Regions from separate parts of the Homo sapiens genome. Here region 2 is linked to region 1. The links are contacts of gene promoters, found by promoter capture Hi-C in human tissues and cell types (Jung and others, 2019). All regions are on one chromosome and are shown on one strand. Each heading gives the region's core, a stretch centred on a gene start or on the middle of the fragment in contact. The rest is flanking DNA. Distances are from core to core; before and after follow the strand shown. Region 1 holds the start of ZNF99 (zinc finger protein 99). Region 2 has its middle 170 kb from the start of LINC03085.

Region 1 (5,972 bases), core at 2,200-4,699:
AAAAGTTTTCAAATTTTTTCTGTGATGAAAAATAATCTGTTGTTGGGTTTCGATTTTCTAAACTTATCCATCAGCTACAAACACAAAGTATTCTATGTCTTTTTTTTTTATTTTTTGAGATGCAGTTTCGCTCTTGTTGCCCAGGCTGGAGTGCAATGGCGCAATCTCGGCTCACTGCAACCTCTGCCTCCTGGGTTCAAGTGATTCTTCTGCCTCAGCCTCCTGAGGAGCTGGATTACAGGCACCCGCCACCACGCCTGGCTAATTTTTTTGTTTTTAGTAGAGACAGGGTTTCATCATGTTGGCCAGGTTGGTCTTGAATTCCTGACCTCAGGTGATCCACCCACCTCGGCCTCCCAAAGTGCAGGGATTACAGGCTTGAGCCACCATGCCCGGCCAGTATTCTATGTCTTTTTAAAATGCTTTGGCAAATTCTTTTTTTTTTTTTTTTTTTTTTGAGACAACATCTTACTCTATCACCCAGGCTGGAGTGCAGTGGTGTATCCAAACATGGCTCACTGCAGCTTGACCCTCCAGGCTGAAGCGATCCTTCTGCCTCTGCCACCTGAGTAGCTGGGGCTACAGGCATGTACCACCATGTCCGGCTAATTTTTAAATTTTTTTTTGTGAAGACAGGTTCTTACTATGTTACCCAGCCTGCACTTGAACTCCTGAGCTCATGTAATTCTTCCACATTAGCCTCCCAAAATGCTAGGTTTACAGGTGTGAGCCACTGTGCACTTCTGCAAATTCTTGAGAGGATTATTCCCAATGATAAACAGTACTATATTGGCACAAATGTAAAAGGAATGTAGGCTGGGCACAGTGGCTCATGTTAGTAATCTCAGAACCTTGGGAGACCAAGGCAGGCAGATTACTTAAGGTCAGGAGCTTGAAACCAGCCTGGCCAACATGCTGAAACCCCGTCTCTACTACAAATACAAAAATTAGTCAGGTGTGGTGGCAAGCACCTGAAATCCCAGCTACTTGAAAGGCTGTGACAGGAGAATTACTTGAACTTGGGAGGAGGATGTTACAGTGAGCCGAGATTGCACTACTGCATTCCAGCCTGGGTGACAGAGCGAGACCCTGTCTCAAAAGAAGTGAAATAGATTAATAAAAAAAAAATAAAAGGAATCTGGCTTCTACTGTGGAAGTGTCACCCTCCAGGACACTTCAAGGGTCTAGGGCAGCTACTTTAGTAGTGTCATCTATGGAGGTGTGTGGGCTTTGGAGTCAGACAGAGTTGATCCTGAGTCTCAGCCCAGCCACTTAGTAGCTGTGTGTCTTTGGACAAGATTCTTGATGTGAAAGAGTTCTATAAACCACATATGCAAAACAAACAAACAAATAAACAAAGGCAGAATGATACTGATTTCAAAAATGGTAGCAATTTCTAGTTTTTCCTGTATCCATGCCCATTGTAGGTGCTTTTAAAGCTGTTCCCATCAAGATCCAGAATGCTTTTCAAACCCTAGATTTTGCTGGCCTTATTCACTCAGGGCAGTAGAAACCTGTGAACATGACAATGTACTAGTTTGGGGCGTAGGCTCAAAAGGTCTTGAATGCTTCTGTTTTTCTTTCAGAATGCTGCCATCTCCATGAATAAAGCCCATGTTAGCCAGCTGGAGGATAAGATACCATGGGGAGGAGAAGCAAGTTGCCCCTGTTGACAGCCCCAGAAGCAGAAGCTCATCCCCAGAAGCACAGCTGCCTATTCAACAAACAGCTGAAGATACATGTCTGGAGGAGCTCAGCTGAGACAAAAAGAACAGCCTCACTGAGCCCACCCTAAATAGCTGACCATCTCAATTATGAGCAAATAAGTTTTGAATGATTTGTTGTGCTGCAATAGCTAATTAATACATGCACCCAGTGCAGATAGGATGCCAGGATTCATTGACAAGTTGATTACTAGTTCTCTTCTAACAGTGGGTACCCTATAGGTACTGATTTTTCCCCTGATATAAAGTTGGAGGCCTCGTAAGAGAATGCTGAGTAATGCAGAAATATATGTGGACATGTATGCATGTAATTGGTGCCTATACTCACACAGTCCCCCATACCACAGGAGAAAACAGATAACCACAGCCTGACCATTAGGGCCAAGGACAAATAGAAAAGTAAGTTTTCCTTTAATCTATTTTCTTCATATCTAAACATTGGAGGTCAAGACTGTGCACAGATTTGAAGACACAGAGATTTCTTCTCCTGTGGCCTTACCATCCTTAGTTCACCTTCTGATCTCTGGAATAAAGGTAGGCAACAGGTGGCCAGCAGTGGTCTACCTGTGGTTGTTTTTTCCTGCTGTCCTGTGCTTTATTTATGGCTACTATCTGTTCCTCCCTCAGAGCTGAAGAGAGATGTTGGTAGGGAAAGGCTCTTTTTCCATCTTTGGCAGAAAAGGTTTGTTCAGGCCCTTCCCTCTCCTAAGGTCAGAGCTGCACTTCAATGTGGCAGCTACTGGCCATGTGTGGCGACTGAGTGCCTGGAATGTGGCTGGTCTGAACTGTGATGTGCTGGAAAGGTAAAATACAGAGTTAGTTTCAAAGATGAAGTTCCAAAAAATATCTACACTTCATTTATAATTTACATTTTGCTTACGTATTAAGATGATATTTTGGATATATTGGGTTAATTAAATTGCTACAATAAATTCCACCTGTTTTTTTTTTTTTTAATTTTTAAAGTTTGGCTACTAGAAAATTTAAAATACAATTTTATTTCAGAGGATTGCCTTCTTTTTAAAACCTCAGGCAATCTGATGAAAAAACCAGAAGCCAGGAAGGTCATAAACTCTGAAAATTTTAGATAATTGTTATATTCTTTTCATTTGTGAATAACCATATAATATATTATTTATAAAAGAATGTGACCTTATACAAAAGGTTAAATGCAAATACCCTCTGGGGTTGGCCTGGCTCAGTTCAGGAAGGAAGCCCTGCCTGAAAAGGCTGCAGCCTAGACTGTCATCCTTTCCTTTCTTTTTCTTTTCTTTTCTTTTTTTCGTGACAGAATCTCGCTCTGTCATCCAGGCTGGAGTGCACTGGCGCGATCTCGGCTCACTGCAACCTCCGCCTCCTGAGTTTAAGCAATTCTCGTGCCTCAGCCTCCGGAGTAGCTGGGATTACAGGCGCCCGCCACCACACCAGCCTAATTTTTATTTTTAGTAGAGACCGGGTTTTGCCATGTTGGCCAGGCTGGTCTCCAACTCCTGACCTCTGGTGATTCACCCGCCTCGGCCACCCAAAGTGCTGGGATTACACGCGTGAGCCACCGCGCCCGGCCCGTCACTCTTCATTCAGCTCAGCATCAGATCACATCTTCTGTCACTCAGGGCCTGAGGAGGCGGGGATTTAAACATTATCCAATCAGGGACTCTGGGCTGGGAACCGTCCAATCAGGCACTCAGCTGGAGCGGAAAGGGCGGCTTGTGGGATGTGGCGGGGCCGTTGTTTCTGGTTCCAGCTGGAGCTCCGGATCTCGTTTTTACTGCTCTGTGTCCTTAGCCTCTGTGGCCCTGTGACCTGTAGGTATTTGGAGATCCACAGCTAGGACGCCAGGACCCCCTGGAAGCTTAGAAATGGTGAGAGTGCCGGGTCCGATATCCTGAGAAGGGGAAGGGGCTGACTGGAACCGGTGGAAAGTGGCTGTGGCGGGACTCAGGCCTCCCCTCAGTGAGCTCCACAGTCTGCGCCCCGAGCTCTTGCCCAGCTCGGCCTCAGTCTCCTTCAGCCATAAGATGGCGGCTGCGCTGACTGCGGGACCCCGGGCGACCTGCCTCCTTCCTGCACTGTGACTATGCCCTGGCCTGGAGCCCTCTCTGGGCCGCTCTTCACCCGCAGCGCCTCCTCTCTCACAGATTGTGCAGGGACCACGGGAGGGGCGTCAGGGGAGAATCCTGACTCCGGGTGCGGGTTCATGAATGGGAAGAGCTTTGGTCCAGTGAGGTTTCCAGTCCCTCTTTTCTCCTATTAAAAATTGATGGCAGTCATCACTAAAGTAATAAAGGATTTAATCAAAGAGTGATTCAAAAATGGCAGAGCACCCAGCTGTGGTTTGTAGTTTATGGTCTATGGAAGGGATTTGACGGAAAGAGTTTTATAAGGTGCATAATGAAGAAAACCAAATTCAGTAATGGGTTATGTACAGTTACGTAGATTCTTAATTTGTACAATCAAGATGGAAATTTCCCGTTTATATAATCAGAGGTTAATTGTAGTTTATAGTTGGTTAAGCCTGAATTTTGTTTCCCCCAATGTAGTAATTTACAAAAAAAAAAGCACTTGAATTATTAATATTTTTTTCTTTCTTTTTTTGAAACGGAGTTTTGTTCTTGTTGCCCAGGCTGGAGTGCAGTGGCGCGATCTCGGCTCAACGCAACTTCCGCCTCCCAGGTTCAAGCGATTCTCCTGCCTCAGCCTCCCGAGTAGCTGGGATTACAGGCATCCGCCACCACACCCGGCTAATTTTTGTGTTTTTAGTAGAGACGAGGTTTCTCCGTTTTGGTCAGGCTGGTCTCGAACTCCCGACGTCAGGTGATCTGCCCTCCTCCGCCTCCCAGAGTGCTGGGATCACAGACATGAGCCACCGCGTCCGGCCGAATTAGATTTTTTAAAAAGTAGATTATCAGGCCTGGCTCGGTGGCTTACACCTGTAATCCCAGCACTTTGGGAGGCCGAGGCGGGTGAATCACGAAGTCAGGAGTTCTAGACCAGCCTGGCTAACATGGTAAAACTCCGTCTCTAATAAAAATACAAAAATTAGCCGGGAGTGTGGCAGATGCCTGTAATCCCAGTTTCTCGGGAGGCTGAGGCAGATAATCGCTTGAACCCGGGAGGCAGAGGTTGCTGTGAGCTGAGATTGCGCCACTGCACACCAGCCTGGGCAAGAGAGGGAGACTCCCTCTCATATTAAAAAAAAAAAAAAAAAAAAAAAGGCCAGGTGCGGTGGTTCATGCCTGTAATCCCAGCACTTTGGGAAGCCGAGGCAGGCGGATCACCTGAGGTCGGGAGTTCAAGACCAGCCTGACCAACATGGAGAAACCCCATCTCTACTAAAAATACAAAAATTAGCCAGGTGTGGTGGCACATGCCTGTACCTGTAATCCTAGCTACTCGTGGGGCTGAGGCAGGAGAATTGCTTGAACCCGGGAGATAGAGGTTGCGGTGAGCCGAGATCGCGCCATTGCAGTCCATTCTGGGCAACAAGACCGAAACTGTCTTAAAAAAAAAGAAAAAAAAAAGTAGATATCAGGCACTAGAGCCACCTCAGTCTATTTGCCTGCCACTTAATTATTTTTAATTATTTTCACACTCCTCAGATGACTGATTTTCCCCTCCATTTTTTACAGGTATCTCAAGCAGAGTATTATGTCTACTCCCAAACCCCAATTCCTGCAGCCTAACTCTGGCTTGCAATAAAATACTAAACTTCCAGTTCATAATGTCAATTTTCCCTCTCTGATTCACATTACTATTTGTCCTTAGTGTACATTTTGATACTGTATTTTATTTTTTAACAAAGCATTGGATGGTACTTTTCATAATATTTGTTTTCTGTTTGTGAATATTTCCTAAGAGAAGAAAGCAAAAAATAATCCCCTGACACTGTGTTGTAAAAAATCTTTGTGCCGCTTTTTTTTTTTCCTCCTTGCTCCACAGATTTTAGCAGAATGTTTTGGGGTAAAGGTAAAGGTTTTCCTTTGGAAACTTTATGATGTGTTTTCAGCCATTCTTCAGTTTTTTCCCTGGTCCTGGGTTTCAGTACTGTCTGGGAATTAGCTAAAATATTCCCCATGGCTATGTCTGCTAGAGTGTCTAGTGAATATCAGCTCCTGGTCATTTTCTCCAGTAGGACAACCTGAGGTGTGGAGTGTAGCCTTTCAACGAAGAAGGCAGATGCCCTGGGGTTGAGAGGTCTCTCCTGGTATACTCTTCCTTTGAAAAGCTAACCCTTGAGACATTAAGATT
Region 2 (5,972 bases), core at 2,478-4,977, 1.5 Mb before region 1:
GTAGACAAATGAAGCAGTTTCTCAGAAAGCTTCTTTCTAGTTTTAACCTGGAGATATTTCTTTTCTCACCATAGACCTCAATGCATTCCCAAGTATCCCTTCCCAGATTCTACCAAAACAGTGTTTCCAAACTCCTCAATCAAAAGTAAGGTTTACCTCTGTGAGATGAACGCATACATTAAAAAGGAGTATCTGAAAAAAGCTTTTTTCTAGTTTTTATCTGAAGATATTTCATTTTTTGCCATAGGCCTCAATGCACTCCCAAATATCTGATTGCAGATTCTATAAAAACAGGGTTTCCAAACTGCTCAATCAAAAGAAAGCTTTAACTCTGTGACATGAATGCACACATCACAAAGCAGTGTCTCAGAAAGCTTCATTTTAGTTTTTATCGGGAGATATTTCCATTCTCACCATAGGCCTCAATGCACTCCCAAATATCCAATCACAGATTCTATAAAAACAGGGTTTCCAAACTGCTCAATCAAAAGAAAGTTTTAACTCTGTGACATGCATGCACACATCACAAAGCAGTGTCTAAGAAACCTTCATTTTAGTTTTTATTGGGAGATATTTCCATTCTCACCATAGGCCTCTATGCACTCCCAAATATTTTCTTTTCCACCACAGGCCTCAATGCACTCCCAAATATCTGTTTTCAGATTCTACAAAAAACAGTGCTTCAAAACTGCTGAATGAAAAGAACCATTTATCTTTGCAAGATGAATACACACATCACAAAGAGGTTTCTCAGATAGCTTCCTTCCAGTTTTTAAACTGGAATATTCCCTTTTTTCTCTACTGTCCTCAATGAGCTTCCAAATGTCCATTCACAGAAAGCAAAAAACACTGTTTCAAAACTGCTGAATCAAAAGAATGGTTTAACTCAATGCGCTCCTAAATATCTCTTTTTAGATTCTACAAAAACAGTGTTTCCAAACTGCTGAATGAAGAGAAAGGTTTCAATCTGTGAGATGAATGCACACATCACAAAGCAGTTTCTCAGATAGCTTCCTTCTAGTTTTTATCCTGGGATATTCGTTTTTCACCATTGACCTCAATGAGATCCCAAATGTCCATTAGCAGAGTGGACAAAAACAGTGTTTCCAAACTACTGAAGCAAAAGAAAGGTTTAACTCTCTGAGAAAAATGCACACATCACAAAGAAGTTTCTCAGAAAGCTTCTTTCTAGATTGTATCTGAAGATATATTCTTTTTCACCGCAGGCCTCAATGCACTCCCAAATATCCATTCACAGATTCTACAAAAACAGTGTTTATACACTGCTGAATGAAAAGAAAAGTTTAATTTTGTGAGATGAATACACACATCCAAAAGCAGTTTCTCAGATACCTTCCTTCTCCTTTTTTTCCTGGGATATTCACTTTGTTGCCATGGGCCTCAATGAGCTCACAAATGTTCATTTGCAGAATGGACAAAAATAGTTTTTCCATACTTCTGAATAAAAAGGAAGGTTGAACTGTGTGAGATGAATGCACACATCACAAAACAGTTTCTCAGAAAGCTTCTTTCTAGATTTATCTCAGGATTATTTCTTTTTCACCATAGGCCTCAAAGCACCCAAAAATATCCCTTCACAGATTCTACAAAAACAGTGTTTCAAAACTGCTGAATGAGAAGAAACGTTTAAGTCTGTGAGATGAAAGCACACATCACAAAGCAGTTTCTCAGATAGCTTCCTTTTAGTTTTTATCCTGGAATATTTGTTTTTTCACTCTTGTCTCAGTGAGCTCCCAAATGTCCATTTGCGGAATGGAAGAAAAAACAGTGGTTCCAAACTGCTGAATCAAAAAAAAGGTTTAACACTGTGAGATGAATGCACACATCACTAAGCAGTTTCTCAGAAGGCTTCTTTCTAGTTTTTATCTGAAGTAATGTTCTTTTTCACAATTGGCCTCAATGCGCTCCCAAATATTTCTTCACAGATTCTACAAAAACAGTGTTTCCAAACTGCTGAATGAAAAGAATGGTTTAATGCACGAGACGAATGGGAGCATCAAAAAGGGGTTTCTCAGATAGCTTCCATCTATTTCTAACCTGGGTTATTCACTTTTTCACAGTTGACCTCAATGAGCTCCCAAATATCTATTCACAGAATGGACAAAAACAGTGTTTCCAAAGTGCTGAATCATTAGAAAGTTTTATCTTTGTGAGTTGAATGCATACATCAAAAAGTTTCTCAGAAAGTTTCTTTCTAGTTTTTATCTGAAGGTTTTTTTTTCACCATAGGCCCCAATACACTCCAAAATATCCCTTTGCTGATCCTACAAAAACAGTGTTTCCAAACTGCTGAATGAAAATAAAGGTTTCACTCTACCAGATGAATTCACACATGACAAAGCTGTTTGCCAGATAGCTTCCTTCTAGTTTTTTTCCTGGGATATTTGTTTTTCGCCTTTGGCTTCAATCACCTCCCATGTGTCCATTCAGAGAATAGACAAAAACAATTTTTCCAAACTGCTGAATGAAAAGTTTAACTCTGTGATATTTATGCATACATCACAAAGCAGTTTCTCAGAAATATTCTTTCTAGTTTTTATCTGAAGATATTTTCTTTTTGACCATAGGCTTCAAAGTGCTTCCAAATATCCCTTCTCATATTCTACAAAAACAGTATTTAAAAACTGATGAATCAAAAGAATGGATTCACTCTACGAAGTGAATGCAAACATGATGAAGGGGTTTCTCCAGTAGATTCCTTCTTTTTTTTATCCTGGGAAATTCACTTTTTCGTCATTGGCCTCAATAGCTCCCAAATGTCTGTTCGCAGAGTGGGAAAAAACAGTGTTTCAAAACTGATGAATCAAAAGAAAGGTTTAACTCTGTGAGATGAATGCACACATCACAAAGCAGTTAATCAGAAAGCTTCTTTCTGGTTGTTATCTGAAAATATTTTCTTTTTCATCTCTGGCTTCAATGTGCTCTAAATTATCCCTTCGCAGATTGTACATAAACAGCATTTCCAAACTGTTAAATCAGAAAAAAAAGTGTAACTCTATGAGATGAATGCATACATCACAAAGCTTCTTTCAGGTTTTTATCTGAAGATATTTTCTTTTCACCAGATGCCTCAATGAGCTCCCAAATATCCCTTCACAAACTCTACAAAAACAGCATTTCCAAACTGTTGAATCAAAAGAAACGTTTAACACTGTGAGATGAAGGCATGCATCACAAACTAGTTTCTCAGAATGGTTCTTTCTAGTTTTTATCTGAATATGTTTTCTTTTTTAACTTAGGCTTCAATGTGCTCCCAAATATCCCTTCACAGGTTCTACAAAAACCATGTTTCCAAACTGATGTATCAAAAGAAAATTTTCACTCTGTGAGATGAATGCGCACATCACAAATGGATTCTCAGCTTCCTTCTAGTTTTTATCCTGGGATATTTTCTTTTTTGCCATTGGTCTGAATGAGCTCCCAAATGTCCTTTTGCAGAATGGACAAAAACATACTTCCCAAAATGCTGAATGAAAAGAAAGTTTTAACTCTGTGAGATGAATGTACACATCACAAAGCAGTTTCTCAGAAAGTTTCTTTCTAGTTTTTATCTGAAGATATTTTCTTTTTCACCATAGGCCTCAAAGTGCTCTCAAAAGCTCCTTTTCAGATTCTCCCAAAACAGTGTTCCCAAACTGCTGAATTAAAAGGGCAGTTTATCTCTGAGAGATTAATGCACACATCACAAAGTGGTTTCTCAGATAGATTCCTTCCAGGTTTTATCCTGGGACATTTCCTTTTTTTCCATTGTCCTCAGTGAGCTCCCAAATGTCCATCCTCAGAATGGACAAAAACAGTGTTTCCAAACTCTTCAACCAAAAGAAAGGTTTCATTCTGTGAGATGAATGGACACATCACAAAGCAGTTTCTCAGAAAGCTTCTTTCTAGTTTTTATTTGATTATTTTATTTTCACCATAGGCCTCAAAGCTCTCCCAAATATCCCTTCATAGATTCTACAAAAACAGTCTTTCCAAACAGCTGAATTAAAAGAAAGATTTAACTCTGTGAGATGAATGGACACATCACAAAGCAGTTTCTCAGAAAGCTTCCTTCAACTTTTAACCTGAAGATATTTTCTTTCTCACTATAGGGCTCAATGCATTTCCAAATGTCCCTTCACAGATTGTACAAAAGCAGTCTTTCCAAACTGCTAAGTAAAAAAAAGATTTAGTCTATGAGATGAATGTATATATTACAAAGGGGTTTCTCAGATAGCTTCCTTCTAGTTTTTATCTTGGGATATTCACTTTTTCACCATTCGCACCAACAAGCTCCCAAATATCCCTTCACATATTCTACAAAAACAGTGTTTCCAAACTGCTGAATCAAAAGAAAAGTTTAATTCTGTAAGATGAATGCACACATCACAAAGCAGTTTCTCAGAAAGATTCTTTCTAGTTTTTATCTGAATATATTTTCTTTTTCACTATAGGCCTCAATGTGCTCCAAATATCCTTTTGCAGATTCTACAAAACCAGTGTTTCCAAACTGCTGAATCAAAAGAGAGATTTAACTTTGTGAGTTGAATACACACACCACTAAGCCATTTCTCAGATAGCTTCCTTCTAGTTTTTATCCTGGAGTAATCACTTTTTTGCCATTGGCCTCAATGACCTCCCAAAAGTCCATTCAGAGAATGGACAAAAACAGTGCTTCCAAACTGCTGAATGAAAAGAAATTTTAACTCTGTAAAATGAATGTACAAGTCACAAAGCAGTTTCTCTCAATGCTTCTTTCTAGTTTTTATCTGAAGATAATTTCATTTTCACAATAGTCCTCAATGTGCTTCCAAATATCCCTTCGCGGATTCTACAAAAACAGTGTTTACAAACTGTTGAATTAACAGAATGCTTTAACTCTGTGAGATGAATGCACACATCACAAAACGATTTCTCAGGTAGCTTCCTTCTAGTTTTTATCCTGGGGTATTCTCTTTTTCACCATTGGCCTCCATGAGCTCCAAAATGTCAGTTCACAGAATGGACAAAAACAGTGTTTCCAAACTGCTGAATCAAAAGAAAAGTTTACCTCTGTGTGAAGAATGCACACATCACAAAGCAGTTTCTCAGAAATCTTCTTTCTAGTTTTTATCTGAAGACATTTTCTTTTTCACTATAGGACTCAATGTGCTCCAAAATATCCCTTTGCAGATTCTACCAAATCCTTGTTTCCAAACTGCTGAATGAAAAGAAAGGTTTAAGTCTGTGAGATGAATGCATACATCACAAAGCGGTTTCTCAGATAGCTTCCTTCTGGTTTTTATCCTGGGATATTTGCTTTTTTGCCATTGGACTCAATGAGCTCTCATGTCCATTTGCAGCATGGACAAAAAAAGTATTTCCGGCCGGGCGCGGTGGCTCACGCCTGTAATCCCAGCACTTTGGGAGGCCGAGGCTGGCAGATCACAAGGTCAGGAGATCAAGACCATCCCGGCTAAAACGGTGAAACCCCGTCTCTACTAAAAATACAAAAAATTAGCCAGGTGTAGTGGCGGGCGCCTGTAGTCCCAGCTACTTGGGAGGCTGAGGCAGGAGAATGGCGTGAACCCGGGAGGCGGAGCTTGAAGTGAGCCGAGATCCCGCCACTGCACTCCAGCCTGGGCGACAGAGCGAGACTCCGTCTCAAAAAAAAAAAAAAAAAAAGTATTTCCAAACTACTTAATCAAAAGTAAGGTTATCTCTGTGAGATGAATGCACACATCACAAAGCAGTTTCTCAAAAAGTTTCCTTCTAGTTTTTATCCTGTTATAGTTGCTTTTTAGCCTTAGGCTTCAATGCACTCACAAACATAATTTCACAGATTATAAAAAAACAGTGTTTCCCAATTGTTCAATGAAAAGAAAAGTTTAACTGTGAGATGAATGCACACATCAAAAATCGGTTTCTCAGATAGCTTTCTTCTAATTTTTATCCTGCGATATTTGTTTTTCTGCCATTGGCCTCAATGATCT

What was found. Contacts are between HindIII fragments. The study calls those that stand out against the background at their distance.
Region 2: a contact is called between a fragment that was not itself captured here and the fragment with the promoter of ZNF99 in region 1, in 1 of the 25 tissues and cell types used here (dorsolateral prefrontal cortex).

Annotation. Positions count from the first base shown.
Region 1 is chr19:22,781,628-22,787,599 of GRCh38, reverse strand. It overlaps ZNF99 (zinc finger protein 99), which reads left to right and starts at 3,449. Exons shown (of 4, transcript NM_001080409.3): 1 at 3,449-3,586. The coding sequence starts at 3,584. The HindIII fragment of the contact is 12,356 bases long and covers 1-5,972 here.
Region 2 is chr19:24,311,717-24,317,688 of GRCh38, reverse strand. No RefSeq gene overlaps it. Among named protein-coding and RNA genes, the nearest start is that of LINC03085, 170 kb to the right of the region's middle. The HindIII fragment of the contact is 3,042 bases long and covers 2,207-5,248 here.